5 separate regions of the Homo sapiens genome follow, and all the other regions are linked to region 2. The links are contacts of gene promoters, found by promoter capture Hi-C in blood cells and fetal thymus (Javierre and others, 2016). All regions are on one chromosome and are shown on one strand. The core of a region is centred on a gene start or on the middle of the fragment in contact, and the rest is flanking DNA. Distances in the headings are between cores, read along the strand shown.

Region 1 (2,700 bases), core at 116-2,615, 150 kb after region 2:
ACTTTTGGCAGGTGTCTTCAGACCCTACATATTTTTTTCAAAAATCCTCAAAAAGGCAAACACTTCCTCCTTTGATGGTAGGTTCAGTATCCAGGAAAACACTGAAGTCATCTGTAACAAAGTCTGGTGAAAAATTGGTATTTGATTTAATAATACCATTTCACATTAAAAGGAAATCCGCACGTATACAGAGGCACATGGCTAGAAAGCAATAAAGCAGTTTTCTCGTGTTGCCTGTAAACTGTCAGTGCAATCCCAAAATTATAATTTATTCCAGTAGTCCACTATTTCTTCAAAGTTTTTAAGAAGCATCAGAAGCGTTTGTTAAAGAAAATTTAGAAGCCCAAAATTAAATCAGATAAAAATGGAGCTTCCCTAGAGTTCCTCAGAATCTCTAAGACTTCACGGAACAGGCATTTAGAAAAATGCATTGACTCACTTTCAAATATCTAGTATTCTAGGTATGCCGTTATCATTTGCCCAACAAAACTAACACAGCCTCCCTGGCACATGCTGAATTTCCCACATGCTAAACCTCCCACACGCTCACGCCATTTCACCCCTCCCCCCAGATGGCTGCCTAGAATGTTCTTCTCTCCCCTCCAGGTGTACCCCTCTTATTCATGCCTCTCCCACAGTGCCTCCCACATTTTTGGGGGTTTGTAGCCTGCAGAGTATATAGGAAGCACCTGGGCATGTGGCCAGGGACATCTGTATGTCTCATCACCATACAGATGCACCTGAGAGTATTTTAAAACATACTTTTTCAAAGACCGTTATCCAAGACCAGATGGTTAAATACAAAGATTTGACACGTGGCTACCTCTGGGTGTTAAATTAAGGGCACTGTCTTATTTTCTTCTGTATGTGTTTATTTTCTAAGTGTTCAATAATGAATATGCAGGACTTTAATAAGATTATAGGACAATGCTGTTTAAGATTGCTGTTTTAGGAATCAATGTATTTCTCCAACCTGGCTACTTCCGTAGATGATGGTAAACAGATACTGTGCCCTGGAATCTTGAAAGTCTACAATTTCCTTTGTCTCTGGATAAAATCTAAATCTCTCAACTGAGTTTGTTGTGCTTTTGGTCTCGGCATCAGTCAGCCATTCTCTTCTTCTTCTGACCCTACTCATGTAGCCCAGGTGCATCTCTGTCCCTGGGCCCTCCATGGCAGGGCTGCTGAAGCTGCCAGGCCTGAATCGGTCACTAAGCCTCAGACGTCCCCTCTTCCCCTTCCCTGGCCATGTTGGGTTCCCTCCTGCAGAGCCACCCTTCCACCTCCTCCACCGGCTCTGTGCCCCAGAAGGCTGACCTGTATGGGCCAAAGCAATGGCTTCCCCAACCCCCTGGGGTTTTTGACTGGGTAAAGCTAACAGGGGACACCAGCAGATGAGAGAGAGAGGTAAGAGAAAGAGGTTGACTTCTGTGGGGCTGCTGAATTCCTCAACTGATGCTTTCAGCTCCCGGTCTAGAGTCCTTTCTACTCCCTCTCCTCTGGCTTTAGGCCAAGGTGTGCTAAGAGAGCCCCTGGAACTCTGTGCAAATAGTCCCAGGCCACTCTCTGTCTGCTTCATAAAACTTCAGATCTCATCACTTCTTCAACAATTTTTTTTTTTTTTTTTTTTTTTTTAGCAATAGGGTCTTGCTATGTTGCCCAGGCTGGTCTCAAACTCCTGGGCTCAAGCGATCCTCCTGCCTTGGTCTCCCAAAGCACTGGGATTACAGGTGTGAGACACCCAACCCAGCCTTCAACAACTCTTAAACTCCTCCACAGGGCTTGTTTCAGGCCCTGTAACATGGTTCCTTTTTACCCATGTGAGCCCATTTCCTACTACCCCCTACTTAGTAGCCTCGGGTCTGGCCAGGCCTTTCTCCCCACAGCCTGTGAGCTGGGCACACCAGCATTCTTCCCACTCCAGGCTTTTGCCCTTGCTGTTCCATTCCCTCCTGTGCCCTCTTGCTCCCTCCACCTGGCCAAATCCTACCCATTCATCCAGGTCCAGGCCTAGCTTGGTCCTGCTGCCTTTCCTGCACCTTCTTTCACAAGTTGCTTCCTATTCCTCTCCACTAGCCCTTAACCATTTATGTTTTTTGCTTTGGATTCTGGTGCATTCCTCTTCCCTCCCAGACTAGGCTGCAAGCTCAGAAGGCAGAGTCAAAGTCTAATGCCTCACCCTCCCAACACCTAACACCAACAACCCCCGACTGGTCGCTTCCTCACTCACTTCCTCAAAGCTCTTTTTCTCTGAATCAGCAGGAATCACATTTTCCCGATGTTTGGGTAGATTGTTGGGAAATCTCTCCAGCATCTTGGTAGACGCAGACAGTGGGGTTTCATGGTGTCCTATGACAGGAAACAAAACCTTTAGTGAGAACAATTTCCCGAGCTGTGGTGGCACTCAATGCTAAACTTAGGCAACAGGTGCTACCCACTGAGGGGTCCACAATGCAAACTCTCAGCAGGACTGTGAGTTAGAGAAAATGAGTGGCAGTTACCAGAAAATTCCATCAAAGCAGGACCCTTATTACTTCATGGCAGAATACAGTATTCCAAGTCTCCTACTGAGGAGTGAAGAAGTATCCTTGCATGACAGGGATCAGGACATTTGGGAGGCACCAGACGCAAGGCTCGTGGGGCTGCATGGGCCCGATCCACAGGTGAAGTATGATGAGGCTTCATTAAAAGTTCAAGGAG
Region 2 (2,700 bases), core at 161-2,660:
CAAACTTGCTGTAGGTCTGCTTGAGGGTCTGCCCAGTCAGGTGGCTGCCGTCTTCCAGCCTCTGCAAAGTGAAGCAAGAGAAGGAGAGACCAAGCGCTTGGGCACTGTTCCCTCCCTCTCTCATTTATCCATTTTCCTCCTTCCCCTTCAGGGTGTAGAGAAAGGCCTGGAGGATTCACGAGGGGAAATGAAGAATAAGGTGAGTTCTCTTGGGTCAGCGCCTGACTGCTGAAAAGAGGGCAGCAGTGTTTCTCTCCCCCAGCCCTCGAAGCCAGTGGGCTTCCAGGATTGGGGACCCCTGGTGCCACCCTCACCCCCATCAGCATTTGGATGCCTTCCTCTAGGTCCTTTAGGAGGTGATAGTCATCGCTGTCCGAGGTGTCATACACCAGGTTGTTGGTGAAGGTACTCCTGAGGAACCGCACGGGCTCCAGCCGCGACTCGATGAGCAGCAGGGAGATGTGGAGCAGCTCTAAGTTCTGCAGGGGAAGGACCGGCAGTGGCTGTGCTGCCCGGGGGCTCTGACCACAGGTCTCCCCCATCCCCGCCTAGGGGAGACAGCATCCACTCACGGATTTCTGCTGCGTTTCCTCCATGTTGGAGGATGTCGGAATAGAGTCTGAGAAGCAGAAGGAGGTCTGGGAGTCATGCAGGAATGAATACTTCTGTTCCTTTGTGATATAGGCTTCTTCCTAGGGGAAGGACCCCCCACCAAGAAGGACCACTGCTTTCTATGCTGGAGACCAGCTCCCACTGTTACTCTTCTGGGAACCTGGCTCAGCCTATGCTCATCTGCCTGCATTTTCGCTTCAGAAAACAACCCTGAGCTCCTTAGTCTCCTCCCATTACTTCCCCAGTGGGGGAAAGTCACCCCTTCTTGCCACCCCTGACCCGCACCCATTCCCCAAGAGCTTATAAACTCCTGGTAGGTGTCAATGGCCAGCTGGTGTGCGCGATGGGCTTGGAGCATAGCCTCTTTAAAAAGCCTGGATAAGGGAACGGTTTGGACGGCACCAGCCTCTTGAAGCCAGGGCAGGCAGAGCAGGGCAAAAGCCAGGAGCAGGGACGTCCGGGAGCCTGGGGAGAAACCGGAGGGCAAGAAGGGAGCCGCAGAGCAAGAGGCCAGCACTCTCCCTGTTCCAGGAGCTGTTTTCTTTTTCTCTCTCTCCATCCCTCCAGGGACCAGGAACATTCAGAGATTGGCCAAATATCTGGCCTTAGATGGCGATATTCACATTCAGAAGCCCCAAACCTGAGGTTAGTGCCCCCGTCCCATCTGCAGGGCGCCGCCTCTCCCCTCAGGACACGTTGTGCCCAAAGGGATTTTAGGGGCGCTTACCTGCAGCCATTGCCGCTAGGTGAGCTGTCCACAGGACCCTGAGTGGTGCGGGGAGTCGGGCCTTGGGATGCTGGAGCTGGTCTCTTGTGGGCCCTTTTTATACCCTGGCCCCTTCTCTCTCGCTGTTGCCCCCACCTGTTTCTGTGCACATTTATGCATGGGGCCACTGACGGGCTTGTGCTAATGGATAATTTGGAAGCTCCTCCCACACATGCTGGCATCATGTCCCCTGGCTTGTCATCTTTCCCTTCCCACCGTCACCAGCGTTGTGAGGGTTGTGCACAGAGTGTCAACCACAGACACCACCCAACTTGTCCTCTCTTTAAGGTTCAGGTGGGTGCCCTCTGGCAGCAGGCCATGGTGGCCAACCTGAATGCGGAGAAGGATGTCAGGATAGCCAGTCCTTGAGACCCCTATCGACCACATCCCACTCTCTATCCTATTCCTTTCCTCCTCCCCGCATGTTTAACCTCCACCCACCAGACAGAATGTGTGTGTTGGGAAAAGGGGCCAAGCACAGCCAATAGATTGTGGGGGTTGTGAGCATGATTCAGTCCTGAATTCCACTTCTGCTGACGACTCCTGGGCCCACCTGAGTCAGCTGGATGCAGTGCTAACACTGACCACTAGAGGGAACCAACCCCACACTTTGATCTCCCCTTTCCCTGAGCCTTGGGGCGGGGCGGAGGGAGGGGGTTGGGTGGGGGGCTCCCCCAGGTCACTGGGGACGAAGAACTCAGACTCTCAAGGTATTGCCCCAGCTCCCTGGACCTGCAGCAGAGACACAAACCAAGAAACCGAAATCCCGGGAACAGACACGGACCACAAGCGCTTCCTCCCATAGCCCTGAAACCATCAGAGAATCTCAAAGTTGGAAGAGCTCTTGAAGATTTGAATCTCTTCCCCAGCTTTGGAACTCAAAACACATCACGCCGAAAGATGCCCTATCCATCCATGGAAGCCCGTCCTCTTTTTTCTCCTCCTCCTTTCCACACCTGTATAGAGCCTATCCAGTTGCGAAGGGCCTGCCTGTGCATTCTCACGTCTGACCTGCCACTTGTCTTGTGTAGGAGGTATGATTATCATCCCATTTCACATATCAGGAGACTGAGGCTCAGAGAGACTGATTGCATGAGCTACCTCAGCCAGGGCAGCAGATCTCCACAGCCTTGCTCTTCCCACTTTGTGTCATTTAAAGTCCTTTCTCCAGGCCGGGCACGGTGGCTCATGCCTGTAATCCCAGCACTTTGGGAGGCTGAGGTGGGTGGATCACTTGAGGTCAGGAGTTCAAGGCCAGACTAGCCAACATGGCAAAACACCAACTCTCTAGAAATACAAAAGTAGCTGTGTGTGGTGGCGCA
Region 3 (2,700 bases), core at 170-2,669, 200 kb after region 2:
AGAAGCGATCTTTATGCAGCCTCACACGTTTGAATAGAGATTGGAAAGCACAAGAAACTGCTGGGAAGACTGTGCTGGCACAACCAAACCTTCCGAGTTGAGGCTCGAAAACAGGACTCAGAAAAAGGGGCAAAGCATGAGGAACCGGCCAAGAGCGAACAACGTTGCTTTCTCCAGCTTATCAAGTGGTCGGCAGGAAACAGAAGCAGGAAAGAATTACCAGCCAGAAGATAGCAAACCTATGGGCTCAAAGAGGAGGCCTTTCCAGACATCAAAGGAAGAACTCCCTCGTGAAAAGGGAAAAATGGCTGTCCCAGGCAGGAATGGACAAGGGACCATATTATAAAATATTTTTTAAAAGTTTGTTTTTATTTTTTACATTGACATATAAAATTTATATATACTTATGGTATACAACATGATGTTCTGATATATGTACACATTGTGGAATGGCTATAATGATCCTATAAAGGATATTCTCTGCTGTCATTCTCAGTTTTCCCAGGAATCTCTCTTTCTAAAGTCACTACCCTGGTCAGGCTTCCGCCTAGCCTGGAGGTCATCCAATGTTTTTTTTTTTTTTTGAGACAGAGTTTGACTCTTGTTGTCTAAGCTGGAGTGCAATGGCGCAATCTCGGCTCACGGCAACCTCCACCTCCTGGGTTCAAGCGATTCTCCTGCCTCAGCCTCCCGAGTAGCTGGGATTACAGGCACATGCCACCATGCCCAGCTAATTTTTTGTATTTTTAGTAGAAACGAGGTTTCACCATGTTAGCCAGGCTGGTCTCAAACTCCTGACTTTAGGTGATCCATCCACCTCAGCCTCCCAAAGTGCTGGGATTACAGGCATGAGCCATCGCGCCCGGCCAGGTCATCCAATCTTATTGCCATCTTCTCTAGGTCCCAGAAGTGGACCTGGGCATCTGGATTGTGGGGCAAGGTGGCTAAGCTTCCACATTTGTTTTTTCTTTTAAAAACTGAAGAATAGCAACATCTCTCTAAACACTAAGAAAGCAAAACAAATATTGAGAATTTCAAAAGTAAGAGTTATACAAATATTAAGGGAGACTATTTAATTTAAAAAAAAATTGGTGGCAGCCAAAGAAATCATCAGGAAGTAAACCAAACTCAAAAACCTGATAATCCACTGCTCCTCATCTCTTACCTCCATTGCTCCTCATCTCTTACCCTCATGGGCAGACAGCAATAATGTAACAACTGGTGCTAGGAGACAATCAGGAATAATTAAGGAAGAGTTAAAATATGTTTGGCTCGTGGTGTTCAAGAAGGAAGCAGTGGCCGGGAGCAGTGGCTCATGCCTGTAATCCCAGCACTTTGGGATGCCAAGGTGGGCAGATCACTTGAGGTCAGGAGTTCAAGACCAGCCTAGCCAACGTGGTAAAACCCCATCTCTATTAAATACTCAAAAATTAGCCGGACACGGTGGCACATGCTTGTAATCCCAGCTCCTCGAGTGGGTGAGGCAGGAGAATCACTTGAACCCAGGAGGTGGACAGCGCAGTGAGCTGAGATTGCACCATTGCACTCCAGCTTGGGCGACAGACCGAGACTCTGTCTCAAAAAAAAAAAAAAAGAAGAAGAAGAAGGAAGCAGAGTATAACTGCTGAGGAGGTTGTCAGTAAACATTACTATATTTTAAGTTATGGGATTGTATTTCCATCATTTGGAAACTCACCTATGATGCTGCGGCTAAACGATTCAATAGATACTTGTTAAGTTCAGTGTAGTTCCTGAGCAGTATAATGTGGTTGTTAAAAAGGTAGATTGTGGAGCCAGACCACCTCAGGCAATCACTTACCTCTCTGTGCCTTCAGTTTCTCATCCATAAAATGGGGATAATGCTAATTAACTTTAAAAAGTTGTTGGGAAAAGCTTCTGCACAGCTGAACACATGGAGATTCCTGATGGGTGGGGCATACCCCAAGGGCATGAGATCTCCATGCCCCTTCCCGCATGCCTTGCCCTATGCGTCTCTTCATCTGTATCCTTTATCATAAACCAGTAAATGCAAAAGTCACCAACTCTAGTCTAATTGGAGTGGGCTACACACAGACTCTGAGGCCTGGTGTGAGGCTCACACTGTCTGCTCTGGTAGACAAGAGATCATCAATGCTGGAGATCACAAACTTGGGTGTGCTCTGGAGGTGGAGGCTTAATCTAGCTGAAAGAAACCTCTGGGAATGGATATCAGAAGATCGGGCCTTAATATATTTCCACTGTGACTAGCAGGCTTTTTTCCCAAGAAGGTGATCCAAAGGATGATCTAAACAAAAGCTGTATTTTAAATATTTTAACAGTTACTGGTTAGTTGGTTCCCTGGCTATCTAGTTACCAGTGCGGCATCATGCAGTGACCTATATGTTTAAGCTGTTAAATGTGCTACCCCCACCAATAATGAGATAGACTTTCATGAGAACTGTGCAGCTGTGTGGATGTTTGTTTTTATGTTCCCTTAACCACTGCATATTGCCATTGAATGAGATGGATCAGTGGATATTTTAGGATGAGGTTAAAAACATTTTATTAAATTCAACCATGATTCACATTACTTTTGCTATCCTAGACCATTACAAATTATGAATAAAACAAGTATACATAATTAGTGGCTCCAAGTATTCGCAGAGTTAAACATTTCCAGCTATGGCCAAATCTCCCTGGTATCTAACACTTTATTTTTCC
Region 4 (2,700 bases), core at 126-2,625, 180 kb after region 2:
TGGAACGTAACTACTGTGTAAGGCAGGTAAGGCTGTACTTCTTTTGTTTGAAACACTACCAAGAACAGTTCACCGTCCTGGAAATCCAGTTGCCGTGGCTATGGTGGTAAACTATCCTGCACTTGTCTCCATCTGCATCAACAGGCACAGCATTTGTTCCTGGGGGGAGTGTCAGCGTGTGTCCGAGCATTTACATGCTATATCTATGTGATTAAAAAAATACTTTCCTATTATTTGTTTTAGATTACCAGTTCGGTAATATGTTTATTTCTTTTTGAAACTGTGTATACGTAGTTTACTGACTATAAATTTTGTTTCAGTAAGCAACTTTATAGTACATGTGAAGTAAAGGAAGCGCTGGGTCCCTCCTGCCCTGTATGACTGGCCCATCTCTCTCTGAGCTGATCTCCTCCCGCCACATCAACTCTGTGCTCCTCCTCTACCGTGCCAGGGACACTCCCATCCTTTCTTTTTTTTTTTTTTTTTAAGGACACTCCACCTTTGACCCGCTATGCCGGCTGTCTACAAGACTCCCTTGCCTCCTTGAGCTCTTGCTCAAATGACACCTTCTCCGTGGAGCCCTCCCTGTTTAAAACTGCAGACTCCCACCCCAACCTGGTACTGCCCATTCCATGTCCCCACTTCATTTTTTCTTCAAACCTCTCGTCACTACTAAGTAACTGATTTCCTGTTTTCCCACTAGAATGAAAGCTTTATGATAAAAGGGTTTGCCTGTTTTGTTCACTTGCTGTATCCTCAGGACCTAGAGTAGCATCTGGATACCTTTATCATTTATCTATATTTAACAATTTAGAAAAATGTTGAAATCTTCAGTTATAACCACAAGATTAAACTGAAAACTCAGGGTATCTGCACATTACCATCTTTAATCTTTGTATAGAAATATAAGTCAAGGCCACTGGTATCCAGGGCTGAACTAAAACATGCCAGTTTATTCTTAGAAAAACAGATCATCATGAATACTACTGGAAATTATTAGGCTGGGCACAGTGGCTCACATCTTTAATCCCAGCACTTTGAGAGGCAGATCACTTGAGGCCAGGAGTTTGAGACCACCCTGGCCAACATGGTGAAACTCCATCTCTACTGAAAATACAAAAATTAGCCAGGCATAGTGGCGCATGCCTGTAATCCAAGCTACTCAAGAGGCTGAGGCATGAGAATCACTTCAACCTAAGAGGCAAAGGTTTCAGTGAGCCAAGATCGCACCATTGCACTCCAGCCTGGGCAACAGAGGGAAACTCTGTCTCAAAAAAAGAAAAGAAAAGAAAAGAAATTATTAGACCTTAATTGGATTTATCTAATTCTTCTTTAAGTGTCTTGTAACTCCTCCTCCCTAGTCAGTCACTAGATTCTACTGATTCTATTTCTGGCTTGCCTCTCACCCTTCCCATCCCTCCTCCCTTTCCAGGTCTGCTTCCTGTTTCTAGTCATCCCACACACAGCTGCTAGAGTCATCGAAAAGCGAGCACCTGTTGAGTCACTCACCTGTTCAATCACATTAACAGCTCCCAATTTCCTGTTCAGTCAGATACAAATGCCTAAGTGCTCCATCCAGTAAGGCTCAACATCCCCTTGTAATCCTCCCTCCCTCTACCTGGAAACGCTAAGCTCCTGCTAAACGGGATAAGCTCCTGCACCCTAGACCTGCTGCCTCCTTCGCTCTTCTCCAGGCCTCACTCCTGACTGAACTCAATTCATTCACCAGGGTTTACCTCTGACACCCCACTTCACAGAGCCTCCTGCCCTCCAAATGGATGTGGGCTCACAGCACATTACTAGTCCCTCTCATGAGTGGTTACAGGACTCGGCTGTGTTGAAGTCCTGTGTTCTCATATTTTCACCATGGGTTTAGATCATGGGCTTCTTGAGGACAAGGTCTGCCTTTTTCATTTTGGGGTCCTACAGAACAGGGGTCCCCAACCCCCAGGTTGTGGACCCATACTGGTCTGTGGATGGGTCTGTGGCCTGTTAGGAACTGGGCCACACAGCAAGAGGTGAGCAGTGAGTGAGCAAGCAAAGCTTCATCTGTATTTACAGCCGCTCCTTGTCACTGGCATTACTGCCTAAGCTCCACCTCCTGTCAGATCAGTGGCAGCATTAGATTTTCATAGGAGTGTGAACCCTATTGTGTACTACGCATGCAAGTGTAGTGTGGCATGTTTCTTATGAGAATCTAATGCCTGATGATCTGTCACTGTTTCCCATCACGCCCAGATGGGACTGTCTAGTTGCAGGAAAAGAAGCTCAGGGCTCCTACTGATTCTACATTATGGTGAGTTGTATAATTATTTCATTCTACATTACAATGTAGTAATAATTATAGAAATAAAGTGCACAATAAATGTAATGCACTTGAGTCATCCCAAAACATTCCCTGCCCCTGCTCCCCCGGTCCATGGAAAAACTTCCACGAAACTGGTCCCTGATGCAAAAAAGGTTGGGCACTGCTGCTATACAGTATCTCTCACATTCTAGGTTCTCTAAATACACATTCAATTGAGTTAAAAAGAGGCAAATTCTTTCAGCTCTAAGTTAGAAGAGAAAACAGGTTAATTCTTATGTTTGACTAAGTAACGGAGAGGACACAGTTTTGTTGCATACAGATGACATTACTTGCAGAAATGAAGACTTGGAAAAAACCAACTTAAAGCATTATGTGCAGGGAAAAGCAAAGCA
Region 5 (2,700 bases), core at 146-2,645, 130 kb after region 2:
CACTACACAAGGTTTACATCTGAGAATGCAGAGTAGGTGACTGGTAATGCTTTCTAGGTAAGTGGGGACTCCCCATCACAGCTTTAGGGACACTGAAAAGGAATACTGTATCCACCAAACACACACACAGTACACAGGGGAGGTGGGGGGGCTTTGGCCAAAGTGTTGGTTAAGGCTGCTCCAGTGGGAGGCTCACTGCAGTCACGTTCTTTGTGGCTTTCCAACGTCTACAGAAAGAATTTAAGCGCCGGTACAAAAAATCAGAACCAGAGTTACTCACGGGAAATCACTGTTTCATAAAGAAGGAGGGGAGTAGACCATTGGGTTTAAAAGATGATGTCCAACCTGGGAGGGTGGAATTTCGGCTCACCTGGAGAGGATGCCTGATGACTTCCTGCCAGGAGAAGCCAAAGCCAGGACATAGTCAACCAAAATAACTCCAGGTTGGTGAGGGAAGGGACAAGGAAAAGAAACACTGGGAAATTCAAAGAAAGGCAATCTCAGACACTAAAAGAGCAGAGAGAGAAAGCGACATGGGGGACTTAAAGAGGCTCCTTCCAGGGCGCTGGGCTTCTCTTCCAGCACAGAAGGCTGCAAAAGTGGAACTGGCCCCCAGTTCCCAGAGGATCACAAGGCCAAGGATCCAATGGGCACACCATGAGGACCCAAGGAAAGGACAGAGAAAGGAACGGCTCTGGGAAAGCCAAACCTGGCCAAAGTCCAACTTCCTGAAAAGAAAGCAGCCAAGAGGAGAAAGCCGTACAATCCAAAGGTCCCCCCATCTGCATGAACGGTTTGATCAGCAACCAATTAATCTCTCACTGCAGCAAGAAAAGAATTGCCAAAGATAACTGAATCGCATGCACACAAAACCTTACCAAAGGCTCAGGGTCAACTCTGATAAGGCCCTTTCTTCTAGAGTTGGTGGGAAGAAACTCTGCTGGATCTACTCACCTGCAGATCTTCCAGAACATCTATCTGTAACTGATCAGAGTGATGTCTCCTTGGAAGGGCCTCTGACCACCACTGCACTGAGAACACGGCGGGAGTGAGAACACCTGCGCACCCAGGATTTCACACTTAGCCACTAGATTGCTTCACAGCTAATCAGGGAAATGCCAGTGTTCCCCAGGTGAAAATGTTTTGGTGCCTAATGACTTGTGGAGCACTTCAAAAACTGAGATTAGGCCGGGTGCGGTGGCTCAAGCCTGTAATCCCAGCACTTTGGGAGGCTGAGGCAGGCGGATCACGAGGTTAGGAGATCGAGACCATCCTGCCTAACATGGGGAAACCCCGTCTCTACTAAAAAAAATATAAAAAATTAGCCGAGCGTGGTGGCACACACCTGTAATCCCAGCTACTCGGGAGGCTGAGGCAGGAGAATTGCTTGAACCAAGGAGGCGGAGGTTGCAGTGAGCTGAGGTCGTGCCACTGCACTCCAGCCTGGGTGACAGAGCGAGACTCTGTCTCAAAAAAACAAAAAACAAACGAAAAAACACTGAAATTAAAAAGACTCAAGAAGCAACAAGAGAAATTCTGGCACACGTGCCCAAGAGAGGTTTAGTAAGACAAGATTTAAATAAGTCATAGTGTCCTTTGGATTCCTAACAGATGTGACCAAGCTCCATCTTGAAGATAGCGTACAGTACTTCTAAAAAGCTCAACAGCCTTCCAGGATTGGAGAAGTCCCATAACCTGAACTACAGACCAAACAGCTAAGCCGCAACACGATATGTGATGGTGCAGAGCTGTTCTGGCCTGAAAAGAACTTTCCACTTGCTGAGCACAGTGGGAAACCAGAATTCTCGAGACTAGAACTGGATACACCAGATGATGCCCAAGGTGTTTTCATGACAAGTACCCACACGAGATCTCTTCAAACAAACCCCCCAGAGGATGGACGGGAACCAGGGCTCCTAAAGGCGACTAAGAGGAAAGACCAGAGGTGACCGGACCAGATCCCTGTGATTCTGGGACAGAAGAGATGTAAACCGCAAACACGCGCCCTTCCCCACACACTTTGGTTTCTTTGTGGCAGCAACACTTTTTTATTGTTCTCTCTCATCACAAGTTTTAGGAAAGCAGAAGTTTTGCCTGTCTTGTTCATCGCTGTATCTCCGGCACCCTATATCCTGCCTAGCTCAATACACTAAGTGCTCAAATAAAATACATTGAATAAATGATTTTGAGAAATCTGCGTGGTTAGAAACTAGTATGATAAGCAGAAAAGGCATCGGAAACAGTTGTCTCTAGGCAAGTGGGGCTAAAACAGGGAGATGACACAAAATTGGGTCACTAGAAATCACCTGGGTACTCCCAAAGAGAAAACCTGTGCTGAGAACGAGCTGGGCTGGGGGCACTCCCTGTGGCAGGCCTGTTAAATCACTCGTGGCACCTTCTCCACCTTCTGATCCTCTCTTGGGTTACTGCCAAAGCCCACAGGTAAAGCACCTTGCAGCCGTATGGGGAGCTCTGTCTCAGGCCACCTGGCATGCGGCATGGGAGCAGCAGGAAATGCGGTCTGGCCACGTTTCTGAACAACGCACAGCCTTGCTTAGAAGACGCCAAGGACACCGACCAAGGGCCAAGGTTCCAAGGCCTAAGTGAGGTAATCGATGAGATTTAAGGATGTAGGATCACGTTAATAGTAGGGAAAAAAGTCACTTTAGCTATGATGAAAGGAAGGGAACTGAATTCTAC

Evidence for each region. Contacts are between HindIII fragments. The CHiCAGO score rates a contact against its expected background, and 5 or more counts as called.
Region 1: a contact is called between a fragment that was not itself captured here and the fragment with the promoter of CSHL1 in region 2, in 4 of 17 cell types (naive CD8 T cells, erythroblasts, total CD8 T cells and 1 more). The highest score is 6.3, in naive CD8 T cells.
Region 3: a contact is called between a fragment that was not itself captured here and the fragment with the promoter of CSHL1 in region 2, in 7 of 17 cell types (naive CD8 T cells, total CD4 T cells, naive CD4 T cells and 4 more). The highest score is 12.9, in naive CD8 T cells.
Region 4: a fragment that was not itself captured here is called in contact with the fragment with the promoter of CSHL1 in region 2 in 6 of 17 cell types (naive CD8 T cells, total CD4 T cells, non-activated CD4 T cells and 3 more); the score reaches 8.8 in naive CD8 T cells.
Region 5: a contact is called between a fragment that was not itself captured here and the fragment with the promoter of CSHL1 in region 2, in 13 of 17 cell types (naive CD8 T cells, total CD4 T cells, total CD8 T cells and 10 more). The highest score is 14.6, in naive CD8 T cells.

What each region holds. Positions count from the first base shown.
Region 1 is chr17:64,058,239-64,060,938 of GRCh38, forward strand. It overlaps ERN1 (endoplasmic reticulum to nucleus signaling 1), which reads right to left. Exons shown (of 22, transcript NM_001433.5): 11 at 2,231-2,349. Among named protein-coding and RNA genes, the nearest start is that of ICAM2, 39 kb to the left of the region's middle. The HindIII fragment of the contact is 9,403 bases long and covers 1-2,700 here.
Region 2 is chr17:63,909,848-63,912,547 of GRCh38, forward strand. It overlaps CSHL1 (chorionic somatomammotropin hormone like 1), which reads right to left and starts at 1,411. Exons shown (of 5, transcript NM_022579.3): 1 at 1,340-1,411; 2 at 898-1,077; 3 at 573-688; 4 at 315-479; 5 at 1-61. The coding sequence starts at 1,349. LOC112268204 (a long non-coding RNA gene) reads left to right here and starts at 2,073. Exons shown (of 3, transcript XR_002958148.2): 1 at 2,073-2,412. The HindIII fragment of the contact is 23,854 bases long and covers 1-2,700 here.
Region 3 is chr17:64,110,789-64,113,488 of GRCh38, forward strand. All of the region lies in intron 1 of ERN1 (endoplasmic reticulum to nucleus signaling 1), which reads right to left. Among named protein-coding and RNA genes, the nearest start is that of ERN1, 18 kb to the right of the region's middle. The HindIII fragment of the contact is 944 bases long and covers 948-1,891 here.
Region 4 is chr17:64,094,158-64,096,857 of GRCh38, forward strand. All of the region lies in intron 2 of ERN1 (endoplasmic reticulum to nucleus signaling 1), which reads right to left. Among named protein-coding and RNA genes, the nearest start is that of ERN1, 35 kb to the right of the region's middle. The HindIII fragment of the contact is 1,332 bases long and covers 710-2,041 here.
Region 5 is chr17:64,039,678-64,042,377 of GRCh38, forward strand. It overlaps ERN1 (endoplasmic reticulum to nucleus signaling 1), which reads right to left. Exons shown (of 22, transcript NM_001433.5): 22 at 1-2,700. Among named protein-coding and RNA genes, the nearest start is that of ICAM2, 20 kb to the left of the region's middle. The HindIII fragment of the contact is 3,607 bases long and covers 1-2,700 here.